Linked DNA regions of Homo sapiens: all the other regions are linked to region 2. The links are contacts of gene promoters, found by promoter capture Hi-C in blood cells and fetal thymus (Javierre and others, 2016). All regions are on one chromosome and are shown on one strand. The core of a region is centred on a gene start or on the middle of the fragment in contact, and the rest is flanking DNA. Distances in the headings are between cores, read along the strand shown. Region 1 has its middle 3.7 kb from the start of IRF6. Region 2 holds the start of G0S2 (G0/G1 switch 2). Region 3 overlaps UTP25 (UTP25 small subunit processome component).

Region 1 (4,425 bases), core at 32-2,531, 130 kb after region 2:
AGTGGTACAATGAGTTGAACTGTCACCCACATACAAAAAAATTTGTATTTGTATTTTGAAGTCCTGACCACCCCCACTGCAACCACAGCCAGATGTCAGAATATGACCTTATTGGGAGACAGGATCCTTATGGAGGTAATCAAGTTAAAACGTGGTTATTAGGGTGAGCCTGAATCCAATATGAATGGTGTCCTTATAAAAGGAGGAGATTTGGACACAGAGGCAGATACCCACAGAGGGAAGGTGATATGAAGAGACATAAAGAGAAGACAGCTAGCTGCAACCCAAGGAGAGATACCTGGAATAGAGCTCTTTTTTTTTTTTTTTTTTTCACATCCCTCAGACCCTTGATTTTAGACTTTTAAACTCCAGAACTATGAAACAAAAAATTTCTGTTGTTCAAGCCACCCACTCTGAGGTACATTGTTATGGTAGCCCTAGCATACTCATACAAGTGTGTTGAAGAGCCCCAGATTGATAATAATGTAGGCATGATTCCAAGTCCCAATTTAGCTTTGGAATGTAGCCAGCAAAGGCCTGGGAAGGCAGCAAGGCCCCAAGGCCTGACTCAGCCAGCCTCTGTCTCAACCACTGCCCTGTGGCCACTCTTCCCTTCACTGGGGGAAGGGCAAGCTCATCAGCACAGCTAGCTGTTTACTGCTGATGAGCTCACTAGACAAACAGCATCTTCCATCTGGCCCAGGGCTGGGCTCTGGGGACCAAACAAGCTCCACTGCAGGTGTATGAGAGGGATGAGGGGTAAGGCCATTGGGAGAGTGTCATTTGAGGGGAGTCAAAACCCCAGTGGCATACAAGTATGAGCCCACACACAGGCACTCACTTTTGCACCAGCTGAAATTCCCATGACTAAGGGGATGTCTTAAGGACCTTCTTTAGAAGACATATATTTTGGAATCAGAAAACTCAAGCTGGGAGGGTTCTTCTGGACTATCTAGATCAAGACTAAAACTGACTTAGCCAGTTTTTACCCACACAGTATTTTAAATATCAGGAGGTATCACATAAACATCAAAATTCTCAGCATCTCTTAAAGAGTCAAGTGCCCTGGATGCTCTACCAGCAGTTCTACCTGGCAACAGTTGCCCATTTAGAGGGAGTCTACACGTTACAGCCAATACAAACTCACTCTATTGAGCTCACTAATTTACTTTAATTGCCTGACCCTGTAGGCATCTGATTGCAACTTCTAGTCTAAATTCTCCCTTTTCATAGATGAGAAAACTGCGGCCCAGCGAGGTCAAGTGATTTACTCAAGGTCACATGGCATATTAGCCACAAACCAAGACTAGAACACAAACCCGGGGCTCTATCCACTTGGACCCCTGCTCAGCTCCGCAGCCAAAGTCTATTCTGACCTGTTCTGCACTGGCTGTTAACGATTTAAAAAAAAAAATCGCCAGGTGCAATCGCTCACACCTGTAATCCCAGCACTTTGAGAGGCTGAGGCGGGCAGATCACCTGAGGTCAGGAGCTGGAGACCGGACCGACCAATATGGTCAACTCTACTAAAAATACAAAATTAGCCAGGCTTGGTGGCGCATGCCTGTAATCCCAGCTACTCGGGAGGCTGAGGCAGGAGAATTGCCTGAACCCAGGAAGTGGAGGTTGCGGTGAGCCGAGATTGCACAATTGCACTCCAGCCTGAGCAACAAGAGGGAAACTCCATCTCAAAAAAAAAAAAAAAAAAAATCACCCATGGATCTAGGTACTGTTGATATTGTTGATATTGCCATAAACAAAACCAAGTCCCTACTCTCATGTCACTCAACTGAAGAATTAATGAAAGGGGGTAAAGCAGGTGGAATTAAGGTAGAGATCAGGAGGAACTCCCCGGCTCTGCAGGCAACAAGCCCTGACAATAGGCCACCCTGATGTCTTCTATTCTGATACACGCCTCATCTGCTTGATCTGGGGAATAAGAACATCTTGTGAGTCTTTCCACAAGCTCTTGAGGAATCAGTTCTTCTGTATTCTCAAAAGAGCCTCTTCAGGATTCAGTCATTCCCAACATGCCCTGGGCCTGCAATGCTCCCATCATTTTGCCCTCCATTGATAATCAGGTGCGGCATTGCTGACTCACTAGTGAGTCTGAGTTTCAGGTAGTGGGACGTACATTTCAGCACGGGGGCCCTGATTCACAGCCACAGGGAATGAGGGAATTCCCCTCTCCTGTTCCCAGTCAGCTCTCATTTGGTAGGAAAGAGTTTCTTTTTCCACCCAGAGACTTTAAACTCTACAATATCAGACATGTGACAATAAAACCATGAACCCAAATCCCACTCTCTTCTTGGCAGAGCAGAAAGCGTGGCAACTGGGACTCCTCCCAAAGGCTCCATACAGTGGAGAGTTTAGTGTTACTGGAGTTGGTGATAGCAAAGAAGCTGTGCACCTTTGGTGGAGTTGCTAAAGAGTCAGGTAGGGACATTGCACTAAACAATCCAATTCTGTGCTTTCAAAGGAAATCAGACTCCAACCTTCCTTCTGGAAGGCATTCTGGAGCCCATCAGGTCTACCCTCACTTTTCTCTTGGCCCTGGCTTATCTCTGTCTCCATCCAAGTATCTTAAAGCATCAGGGCCACAGGTGATCCTAACACATTGCCTAAGCCACAGCCTAAACTGAATGCACTCTGGTTGTTGCACTCTATAATGGCCTCCAAATTCTAGAATCACCAAGATGGCAGGAAGCATAAAAGAATCTCACTTTCCAATCCAAGCAATGGCACAGACTTTGGCTTTGGACTCTAGAAGAATTCTCCACCAAAGTGTTCAGAACATCTTCTGAGTCTTTCCATAGTTAGAAGACCCTTTTTATCCTTGAAGCAAGCTGAGCACTGGAAAGTGTTCTCAAAGAAGCAGTTTTTTTTATTCCAAACTTGGATCTCTATGGGAGGCGAAGGAGGAAAAGCAAAGCCCAGGAAATTATTTGGAAGTAAGCTCCCCCTTGGGGCCCTCCCTTCATTCTTCTGCCCATTCATTCCAAAGCTTGAGGGTCCACTTCCCATCTTCCCCAGCATGGAGAGCTTTCTCATTGGCTCTGCAGACAAAAGAGCTGAAGAAACTACAACCACCATGAATGTGAGAGTTCAGAGTTCTGATTCAAAGCTGCTTCCCCATTGAGACAAAACAGTGGCCGGATTTTGGCTTCATGGTCAGCACCAAACAACCTATCCTGTGACTCTATGCTGCTTTGAAATGAGATAGTGGATATGGACGCTCTCTGAAACAGGTGGAGTGCTGTGCAGATGGAGCGACCATCACTGCTGTTATCTGCTCTTTGTTTCCTTTGTGTAGATAATTCTCTCCAGGCTTCAGTCAAGCCCTAAGGGCAGCAAGGTGCAGGCCAGACAGGAACTAGCAGAGTGTTAGGCTCAGTTTGAGCTACAGAGCACTGGACAATGTGTCGATTTCAGAAAATGAAGACTCCAGGAGTACAGAATCTTCGGGGAGCAGTGTGGCAAGAAGCTGGATTCCTGTTCAATATGAGTGATTAACCAAATGTGCTTTTCTCTTCTCCCACCCCCCACCACCCCAGATCACCTCAGGTGATCAATGACAGTGAAGGAATTTTTTTAAAACATATTAATCTATAAGGTTAAGAGATGACAAAAAGCATGAGAGTCGAGATAAGAATGGATGAGAGAGCTCAACAAAAATAATAGGAGACAAAATATTATTTCAACAAAAATAGGATGTGTGTGGGGGCTGATGATTTGGTTATAAAGCTTTCAGTCCTATTTGGTTAAATCTTAAAGCAGATTTATATACTATTTAACGAAAATATTATCATTACTTGTTTTCAAGAAAGAAGAAAGAGCACTTGGGGAGTCAGGAGACCTGGGTGTCAGACTATTCTCTGGCACTCCATGACAGCAGAGCTGCATCAGAAAAACTAACTGTGATTTGGAATGAGTCAAAATTTGTCTCCAGTTTCCCGTCTCTCATTTCCTAACTGTCCAGGCAGTCTGAGCCTCAGTTTACTCACCTCCTAAATGAGAATGCTGCCTATTTCATGGGATTGACAATAGGATTCAATGAAATAAATAAAACAATACCACATCTTAGAAAATATCATTCTTCTCTATTGCTGCATCCCCCTCCCCAACTCTAGGCAAGGATGTGGCACAGTTCAGGGCACCTGGTATTCACTTAATTAAAACCTGCAGTGTTACTGTGTATTTGTTCTTGGGACAGCGAGGACACAAAGTATCTCTTCTCTGCTGATTGGATTAAGAGCAAGGCCCAAGTGTGACTCTCAGAGCCTAGTGAAGAATTCCCTTGAGGAGATATGGCTAAGGGACAGGGAAGACAGGGTAGAAACCAGAAGTTCTTTGACCAAGTAGCAGCCCCACCCTTCACCCCTCCACTGTCAGAATGTTCTCTTCATGTAGTCCAATGCTCAGCCT
Region 2 (4,215 bases), core at 196-2,695:
TTACTGTTAACAATTCAAAAACTAAAATATTTGATCCCTGAGACAGCCTTTTCCCCCGACCCGCCCTTCAGGGCTCAGTCCGACCGACTGCAAAGGCTGTTGCAAGATTGCATCACTGACCTTTGCAATTTTCTGGCCAGTTTGATTTCCCCTTCTTTCCCCTGCCCCCTCCCTTTCTCTGCTTAAAGGCCTTTGGCCAATTTGCCTCTCCTTTTCCCCAAGTTTGCTAACCCTTTGGCCAATTTGCCTCTCTTTTTCCCCAAGTTTGCTAACTCTAGCATATCCATAACCAAAGCCAAACTAGAACGCTCCCTCAGCCCCAGGTGATTACAGCTAACCCTGGTCAAAATCAATCCTACATCTTCACACGTCCAAGAGTACTCACACTCTGGATTCTTACCTAAGCTGTCTACTACACGCCCTTCTGCCCACAAACTGCTTCAAAGCTGAAGTTGAGCTGGAGCAGTGAAGTTGTACCCCCAAACCCAGGAGGGTGGCAGAGAATTATTGAGGAGAGCATGAAATACTTCCATTCTAAAATGGCAGATGAACTTCTACCAACAGCCCCTTCCATACTTGACCCCCTACCCCCAAGCTCCCAACTCCACTTCTCAAGTGGAAGTGAGAACAATTTGAATTTGAAGGCTCTTCCCTGATACACGGAAGTACATAAGGAAACAGCTCGCAGGCAAAGAGACTAATCTCTCTCTCTTTCTCTCTCTCTCTCTCTCTCTCTCTCTCTCTCACACACACACACACACACACACACACACCTCTGTGCATAAAAGCACCATCAATGAATAGTTTTCTATCAACTGACTCTAGTTATACATGCATGTACCTCTAAATAAAACCAACCAGGCAGGAAAGAAACAATATTAGCACATATTGCTTTATCCAAGCGTAACCTGTTCTGTCCTGTTACCCAGATCCTTCCCCCTTGCCTTCTCCTCTCTGATCCATTGCCACACACGTGGGAAGGTGACAACCCTTCCGAATAAAAATGAAAGCTTTCTTCTTTAGATGGAACCCCCAAATTCCCTCATTATTTATAATGTCAGGCTGTCCTGGACAAGGGAAGCTGTGCACCCGCTGACACCAGTAAGAAGGTTGCCGCCATGTCAGAGATGTCCGCGGACACCTCCCTGGGCTCCGGGTCCTCCCCTGCGCTCGCCTGGAGTGGGACCTTCGCGTGCACACTGGCCTTCCCACGCGCCCCGCTGCGATGGCACCCGCGCCGGGCCCCCTAGCTCACACAGTCGGAGCGTGCTCAGCGCGTGGCCACCTCCTGCCAGGTCCCAGCCGGGTTCCACCCCCTCCTTTTCCCCTCCTCTTCTTCCTCCCCCTCCGAGTTCCCCTGGCTCTGACCGCGCTGGCCTGGGCCGGAGAGCCCAGGAGGCGTGTCTCAGAGAAAAGATATAAGCGGCCCCCGGACGCTAAAGCGGTGCCAGCGGCGGAGTCTCCAACTGGGAGAGCTGCAGCTGCCGAGAGGAGGAGAACGCTGAGGTCGGTCGGACCAACGGACGCGCTGACCGCTGCCAACTGCAGCTCGCGCTGCCTCCTGCTCGCGCCGTGCCACTAAGGTAGTCCGCCTTTCTATGAGCCCTCCCCAAGATTAGCTGGGTGCGGGGTGGTGGGAGCCGTTCTTTGGTGGCTGAAGCCCCTCTCCTGCTGCTCCTCCTGCAGGTCATTCCCGCCTCCGAGAGCCCAGAGCCGAGATGGAAACGGTCCAGGAGCTGATCCCCCTGGCCAAGGAGATGATGGCCCAGAAGCGCAAGGGGAAGATGGTGAAGCTGTACGTGCTGGGCAGCGTGCTGGCCCTCTTCGGCGTGGTGCTCGGCCTGATGGAGACTGTGTGCAGCCCCTTCACGGCCGCCAGACGTCTGCGGGACCAGGAGGCAGCCGTGGCGGAGCTGCAGGCCGCCCTGGAGCGACAGGCTCTCCAGAAGCAAGCCCTGCAGGAGAAAGGCAAGCAGCAGGACACGGTCCTCGGCGGCCGGGCCCTGTCCAACCGGCAGCACGCCTCCTAGGAACTGTGGGAGACCAGCGGAGTGGGAGGGAGACGCAGTAGACAGAGACAGACCGAGAGAGGAATGGAGAGACAGAGGGGGCGCGCGCACAGGAGCCTGACTCCGCTGGGAGAGTGCAGGAGCACGTGCTGTTTTTTATTTGGACTTAACTTCAGAGAAACCGCTGACATCTAGAACTGACCTACCACAAGCATCCACCAAAGGAGTTTGGGATTGAGTTTTGCTGCTGTGCAGCACTGCATTGTCATGACATTTCCAACACTGTGTGAATTATCTAAATGCGTCTACCATTTTGCACTAGGGAGGAAGGATAAATGCTTTTTATGTTATTATTATTAATTATTACAATGACCACCATTTTGCATTTTGAAATAAAAAAACTTTTTATACCATATCTCATGTAATTCCTGAGAGGTGTGGTGTCCTGGGGTGGGAAGCAGGGAGGGTGAGCAGGTGGGCGATGGTGATGGGTTCTTACCTGAGCACTGCAGAGGGAGCAGCTTCCTGAGGGTCAGACACTTGCTTCACACCTAGGAACTGTGTAATAAGTTACTACATGCATATAAGTCTGTTGAGGACTTGTTTTTCCTTCTTGTTAGGGGTGGGAAGAGAGAAAATTTTATAACTTCCGTGAGATTTAGCATTTTAACATCAAAAGGTAGATCAACTTCTGAGCTACAGTGAGTAGGAGATAACTGATTAATTCTAAGGCAGAAAAGCTCTTTGTTCCTTACACCTGTGCACCAGAGGTTCCCATGGCTGATACCTTTTTCTTCCCAACTATATTTTAGACAGACAGACAGAGAGAAGGAAAGAAAATGAAGGAGGGAGGTCTGGAGGTGAAGGGAAGGAAAGAAAGGAAAAACTATCTACCTGGCAGGAAAAGAGATAAGCTCCCAAGAACACCAAAGCAGATGATGAGTCTAGCTCTACCCAGCCTTCCTCCCCACGAATCCAGATCATAGTAAGAAACTCTGGGCTAGAAAGAGAAAAAAACCGGTTGTTACATATCTGAGTCCTCCTCCTCCAGTGTACAGAGCTTCATCTGTAGTAATAGCTAATTCAGTGACTCTATAGGGCTCAGCAAAACAAATTTTAAACTTTAAAGAAGTAGCCAGGAGCCAGAGGCATGGCCTTGATGCTAGTCTCCTCACATTTTTCATGTCACCTGTCCTAATCAGGTACTGACACTTTACTCCTTTCATCAACAGCTATGCATTTTTGCCAAACATATCACTGGCTCACACCATTGCCTCTGCTCAGACTCTCTCCTTCGTCCAATGCCCTACACACATCTCCATTTCATTTCTGCCAACTCAATTCCTACCAAGTGTTCCTGGCCCTGATCAAAAGCCATCTCTTTCTGAAATCTATTCTTATCACTCCCAAAGGAAAAAAGCAATCAGAATGTGGTAAGATTAATCAAGGAAAAGAAACATATTTGGAGTTTTAAAGGAAAAGAATGTCAGTGGCACCATGGCTCTCCCAGTTTCCAAAATGGGAAATTCAGCCCTATACCAAGGCAGAGCCTCACTTTCAATGTCCAAGAAACTTCCTAGGAACTGACTCAATTTTATCCTTCCTGCTGGTCTTCCAAAATGCCTCTTTTATTAATTACTCCTTTACCCATTCAGTTACCACCTTGTCTGGCTCTCAACCGCTCAAGCCACCCCCTGCACCTTCTAGCACATTCACCCTAAACAATCCCTTGTCAGACTGTCTTCCTTTAATATCTTTCATTCTGCTGCTCCTGAACTCAAAAACATCTGAGACTAAAACTCTTATGCCAGGTTTCAGTGCCTCTGTGATGTGCTTCCATCACAGCTGGCCGTCTTGCCTGATTTGTCAGGGTGCCTAGCATGAACCCTGGTCCTTGCCTGTTTCCTTCTGGTTTTCTGCACCTTCATTTACATTACTCTTCCAACCCGAATTTCCAACCCGAATGTCCTCCCACCCACTACCTCCACATCTTCTGAAACCACATACCTCAAATTCTCCAAGGAAGGTATGATTTCAAATACAGGTATTTTGCCCATTGTCAAAATACATGTAAAATTGTGTGCTCTGATTTTTGAGATGGAGTCTTGCTCTGTCACCAGGCTGGAGTGCAGTGGCACAATCTTGGCTCACTGCAACCTCTGCCTCCTGGGTTCAAGCGATTCCACTGCCTCAGCCTCCCGAGTAG
Region 3 (4,681 bases), core at 10-2,509, 170 kb after region 2:
TTATTTAAGTCCAGATTAGAACTCTTGTTTGGAAGCAAGGACACACACTCCACATTTTCTAATTTGAAAAAGTCTTTTGTCCCCTTTTCTACCCAGAGATTGTCCATAATTAAACTGTCTACAGATTAAAATTCCTGTCAGTCATTTTCAAATCTCCAGAAAAGATTTCTTTCCCTTAAAATTTCTTTCTACTAACTTTAGGGTGGGTGGATGGGTGGATGGGATAGGTTGATGGATGGATGGGTCCTCACCAGGAACATCTTTACCTAACATAATCCCACATGTGGTTTTTGCTTATGCTGTTTTGTTTGGTCTTTGGTGAAGATGGGAATACCCTGCTCAAGATTTTTTAAGGTGGGATCTTGTTTTGTAGAGAAATATAGGATGTCTTTATTACCCGATGTAATTTGTACTGTAATTTTTTTCTCCTTCTCCACACACTCTGCAGTGTTATCAGTTTTAGGACTGAAAAACTGCTTTGGAACAATCCTTATTTAGGAACTATAGGTTTATTTTTCTAAGGCATATGGGAACTCACCCCTTCTACAACCCCATGTCTTGAAGCTTGCAGGAAGTTTGGGACAAATGAAGGGTAGAACTTACTTCTAAAGTAGGAAATAAATTTATTGTACTCATTACCCTTCAATATCTATTACAAGGTAAAAATATAATTAAAATGGAAAAGGCATTTGGCATAGTCGAGTTATATTCTTAGATTTGAGGAAAAGACAGGGTGACACTGCAACTATTCCTAATGTTTTGAGAACCAGGTAATTGAGGGACAGCAGCTCTGTTTTCCATGGCATTTCCCTTCTTGTCCAAGTCTGGGACTTAGGGACCCATAGAGAGACCAGTGTGGCATTTCAGAAGTTCATTTTAAAGGAACATTCCTGTAGGTACCATTTTGATCATTTGTTAAAATTCCAGGAGGGCCAGTTTTAGCTTATCTCCTCATTGGGGATGTTTGGCTGACCATGGGCAAGTCACTCACCCATGTGAGCCTCAGTTTTCTTGTTATAATTTAGGAGATGATAGTACATGAGTTGATAGACTCGGAAAATGTTTAGCAATGTCCAACATGTAAATGCTCTCAGTCAACACTAATGGTAATATTATTTCCACTCAAAGCATTTGATGAATCACATGAACCTACTACCCCTGGACTCACATGGGGTAGACTTTTCTCGAGTGCGGATGTGGAGCCTCAATAATTGGTCCAAGTACTATCGCCAGACACTGCTATTTGGGGCCCTTCAGGATGCCCAGATCAACTCAGTGTTCAACAAGTACTGTGTCAACATGCAAGGCCAGGTGGGTTCTCGTCTTGTTTCCTCAGTATCTTCATGAGCACTGTTTATTGTTTGGGTCCTGAGGTAGAAGGAGGCGATAGCTTCTGGTCAAGAAGGGGATGGCTGTCCACCTAACGCTCTTGTTGACTACTGGCAGGTGGCCGTGAGGAATGTCCCAATGACAGGCTCTATCAGTCATGTCCTGGTGCAGCTCCCACATGTCTTCCAGAGGATGGAAGCTGAAAACCTAGCTTCAGTGATTGATGCCAGGTAACCCACTCCTCCCAGCAGGCCCCTGGGGACCACATAGAGAGATTTGACTTGGGCATACAAACCTAGAATTGGATTCCATTTTGCTTTTATTGATAACTACCAAATCAGTTGAGATAATTGAACTTAATTATGTCATTTGTCAGAGGAGGAAACTGAAGCACAGAGAGAAATAGTGACTTTGGCCTAGGTCTCATAACTAGTTAGTAGCAGGGTTATTACTATAAATCAGGACTCTTTCACTCTTGACTGTGGCATTTTAAAATTATACAGCTTTATGCTACAAAGTGTCTCATGTCAGCAAGTTAATTGTAAGCCCCTCAGGGAAAGAACTATTTTTCTAATTGTATAATTTCCCCCTTTTTCTTCATTGTGTTTAGTTAGGGGACCCCAAAGAAGCTTAGTGAGGCTTAGTATATGGTAGATGTTCAGTGATTATTTGTTGACTGTTGGACTGAGTGACTGAGTGACTGACTGACTGACTGAATAGTGTGGTGTGTACTTCCTAGAGTAATTCTCTGGGATATAATGGTATTACATCTGTTTTTTACAATGAATAGTGTTGACACTTATTTTTTTAGTGTGCTTATCAAGTTTTATCCTTACATAATCTCTTTGAGAGGAGGTAAATCATATTGGCCTCTGGGGAGGTAATCTTTTAACACGAGATTGTAATTTGCTCAGGGTCACACAGTTAAGAGACACCATAAGCTTAGCTCTAGACATTAATTTTGCCCTTTGCCATTCCAAATCAGGTTTAACTTTTTTGTGAACAAGATTTTGCCACAGTATCGTGATGCAGTCATGTCTCACACGCTCATCTATATCCCCTCCTACTTTGACTTCGTGCGTCTTCGAAATTACTTCAAGAAGGAGGAATTGAATTTTACCCACATCTGCGAGTACACGCAGAAGTCTGGTGTCTCCAGGGCCAGACACTTCTTCCTTCAAGGAGAGAAACAGTTTCTACTTTTCACAGAGCGCTTCCATTTCTACAAAAGGTAAAGTGGTGCCAGGTTTCAAGCCTCCTCTCTGAAGGGGAGGTGCAGGACAAATCATGGCCTGCTCTGAATGCATGGCAGGCTTCGTGGTGTTGAGATCATCCCTCACTCTCGCACTCTTACAAAGTAGCCAGAGAGTTTTTGGTTTGGACAGACTCTTCTTGGTTGGTTAGTTGGTTTTCTCCCAAAATGGGCATTGCTGAAGAAGGATGTAGAAACCAAAGCATACCCTGTCTATAGACCTGGCATGTAGCTGTGGTTATACACTGCAAGAAGGACATTACAGGACAACTCAAATGAATACAAGGAAGGGGAGGGACCTTCCCTGTATTCACTTGAGTTGTCCCTGTCTAGACTTTTTCCCTCTGTTTGCCCTCAGTGCACAGACAAAAGCATTGAGAACTGTGTTTTCTGGGGAGATGGAGGCTGAGTACAGTGTCAGTTTCCAGACAGTTGCGGTGTTCCTGAGGTATGCACAGATACTCCCTACCAAGGAGAACTAGGACCGTGGGCTCCTTGACATTTGCAGGAGGTAAAAGGGTAAGGGCTTCAAGTTGAATGTTGAAGGGTTTCAGCGTTTGCTTAGATTTCCTACCAGGTGACTTTGACAAAATAAGTTGATTGGTCTTCATGTTATTTTTTTAAAAACTCAGGCCAGGTGCAGTGGCTCACACCTGTAATCCCAGCACTTTGGGAGGCCAAGGCAGGCGAATCACCTGTGGTCAGGAGTTCAAGACCATCCCGGCTAACATGGTGAAACCCCGTTTCTACTAAAAATATAAAAAATTAGTTGAGCGTGGTGGTGTGTGCCTATAATCCCAGCTACTCGGGAGGCTGAGGCAGGAGAATAGCTTGAACCCGGGAGGCAGAGGTTGCAGTTAGCTGAGATCGTGCCATTGCACTCCAGCTTGGGCAACAAGAGCGAAACTCCATCTCAAAAAAAAAAAAAAAAAAAAAAACCAACTCTAATTAGAGGGTTAGTAATACTGAGCCTTCTATTACTGTTTGGGATAGTGGCGGCCCTTCTGGCCCTAGAGCTCATGTATTTTATTGTTTTGCTAAGTCTCTCTCTGTTGATAAATAGAAAAAGCTTTTTTATTTTTTAGATTTTTATTTTCAATTTTCATGGTTGCATAATATGTAAAAGGCTTTTTTTAACCCTTGCCTGTAGAGTTATGTAAATTACATTCTGTTACCTCATCCTGATTTCACAATAATGTCCAGTGGATTTAAGTTCTGACTTTACTGTTTTATTAACTCACAATGGGTGCATTTTCTCAGAGAATCCTAAACAGATACGCCAGAAATCTCCCAAGCTTTGGAGCACATTAGATGATGCACTTTGGCATTGCATTACCTTTTAGTTTATGCTAAAACGATTAGGATGGTGCTCCCCAGATAACGTCCTTGTTCCCAGGATGGGGAGGGAGGCGTCCCAGCAGCTTGCCTAGGCATAGCAAAGCTGGCATGGCATGACCTCTTAGAGAGTTGAGGATTGATTAAATTTGTGTTTCCCAGGCTCCATTCTTGGCTACCCAGAGAAGGCTGCTTGGCCAAAGAGTGTTAATGAATGCCTGCTTGTTGCCCTCATTATTTGCTCTGTTCCAGTAAGTTGTCGTTTCCATTCATGTTGGAAAGTATTTGGGGAAGTTGCACTCATCAGGTCTTAAAAGCTCTTAGCTTTCTATCATCTTGACAAATGAAAGCAAGCCCTTTAAGTGAAGTGGATGGATTGGAAAACTTCCCAGTGTGATTGTCTATGGCAACTGTGAATTAAGCTGGGATGGGAATTAAGCTCTTTAATATCTCAGCAGCTTTTCAAGGACAGGGCATGGAGCCCTTTGTAAGCAGGACAGTCTCCTGTATTACACTGTCTATTTACCAAGCCATGTTGCCCTCAAAGTCACGATAAGGACAAATCTCAGCATATGCCATTTGCTTTATGCCCTGGGCCAGGTTAATTGGTGTTTCTTTTGTAGAAGATGAATGAAAATAATGTGCTTTAGAGTTCTGCAACAGCTAATTATCTCAAGGTTTCCAGCTATAGAATTTTTTGCTCGAGAGATCACCAAGGTGATGATGGATGTTTTGGTGTGCAGTGCCTTTGTGATTTTTTTTTTT

What was found. The method cuts DNA at HindIII sites, captures the fragments that hold promoters and counts their contacts. A CHiCAGO score of 5 or more calls a contact.
Region 1: a fragment that was not itself captured here is called in contact with the fragment with the promoter of G0S2 in region 2 in 2 of 17 cell types (neutrophils and monocytes); the score reaches 12.7 in neutrophils.
Region 3: a contact is called between a fragment that was not itself captured here and the fragment with the promoter of G0S2 in region 2, in 1 of 17 cell types (neutrophils). The highest score is 8.0, in neutrophils.

What each region holds. Positions count from the first base shown.
Region 1 is chr1:209,807,665-209,812,089 of GRCh38, forward strand. No RefSeq gene overlaps it. Among named protein-coding and RNA genes, the nearest start is that of IRF6, 3.7 kb to the left of the region's middle. The HindIII fragment of the contact is 3,441 bases long and covers 1-3,002 here.
Region 2 is chr1:209,673,967-209,678,181 of GRCh38, forward strand. It overlaps G0S2 (G0/G1 switch 2), which reads left to right and starts at 1,446. Exons shown (of 2, transcript NM_015714.4): 1 at 1,446-1,583; 2 at 1,687-2,424. The coding sequence starts at 1,719. The coding sequence ends at 2,030. The region is part of intron 1 of HSD11B1-AS1 (HSD11B1 antisense RNA 1); the gene reads right to left. RefSeq lists an enhancer at 1,558-2,406. The HindIII fragment of the contact is 4,554 bases long and covers 1,009-4,215 here.
Region 3 is chr1:209,841,137-209,845,817 of GRCh38, forward strand. It overlaps UTP25 (UTP25 small subunit processome component), which reads left to right. Exons shown (of 12, transcript NM_014388.7): 9 at 1,129-1,311; 10 at 1,447-1,559; 11 at 2,315-2,560. Among named protein-coding and RNA genes, the nearest start is that of UTP25, 16 kb to the left of the region's middle. The HindIII fragment of the contact is 1,394 bases long and covers 563-1,956 here.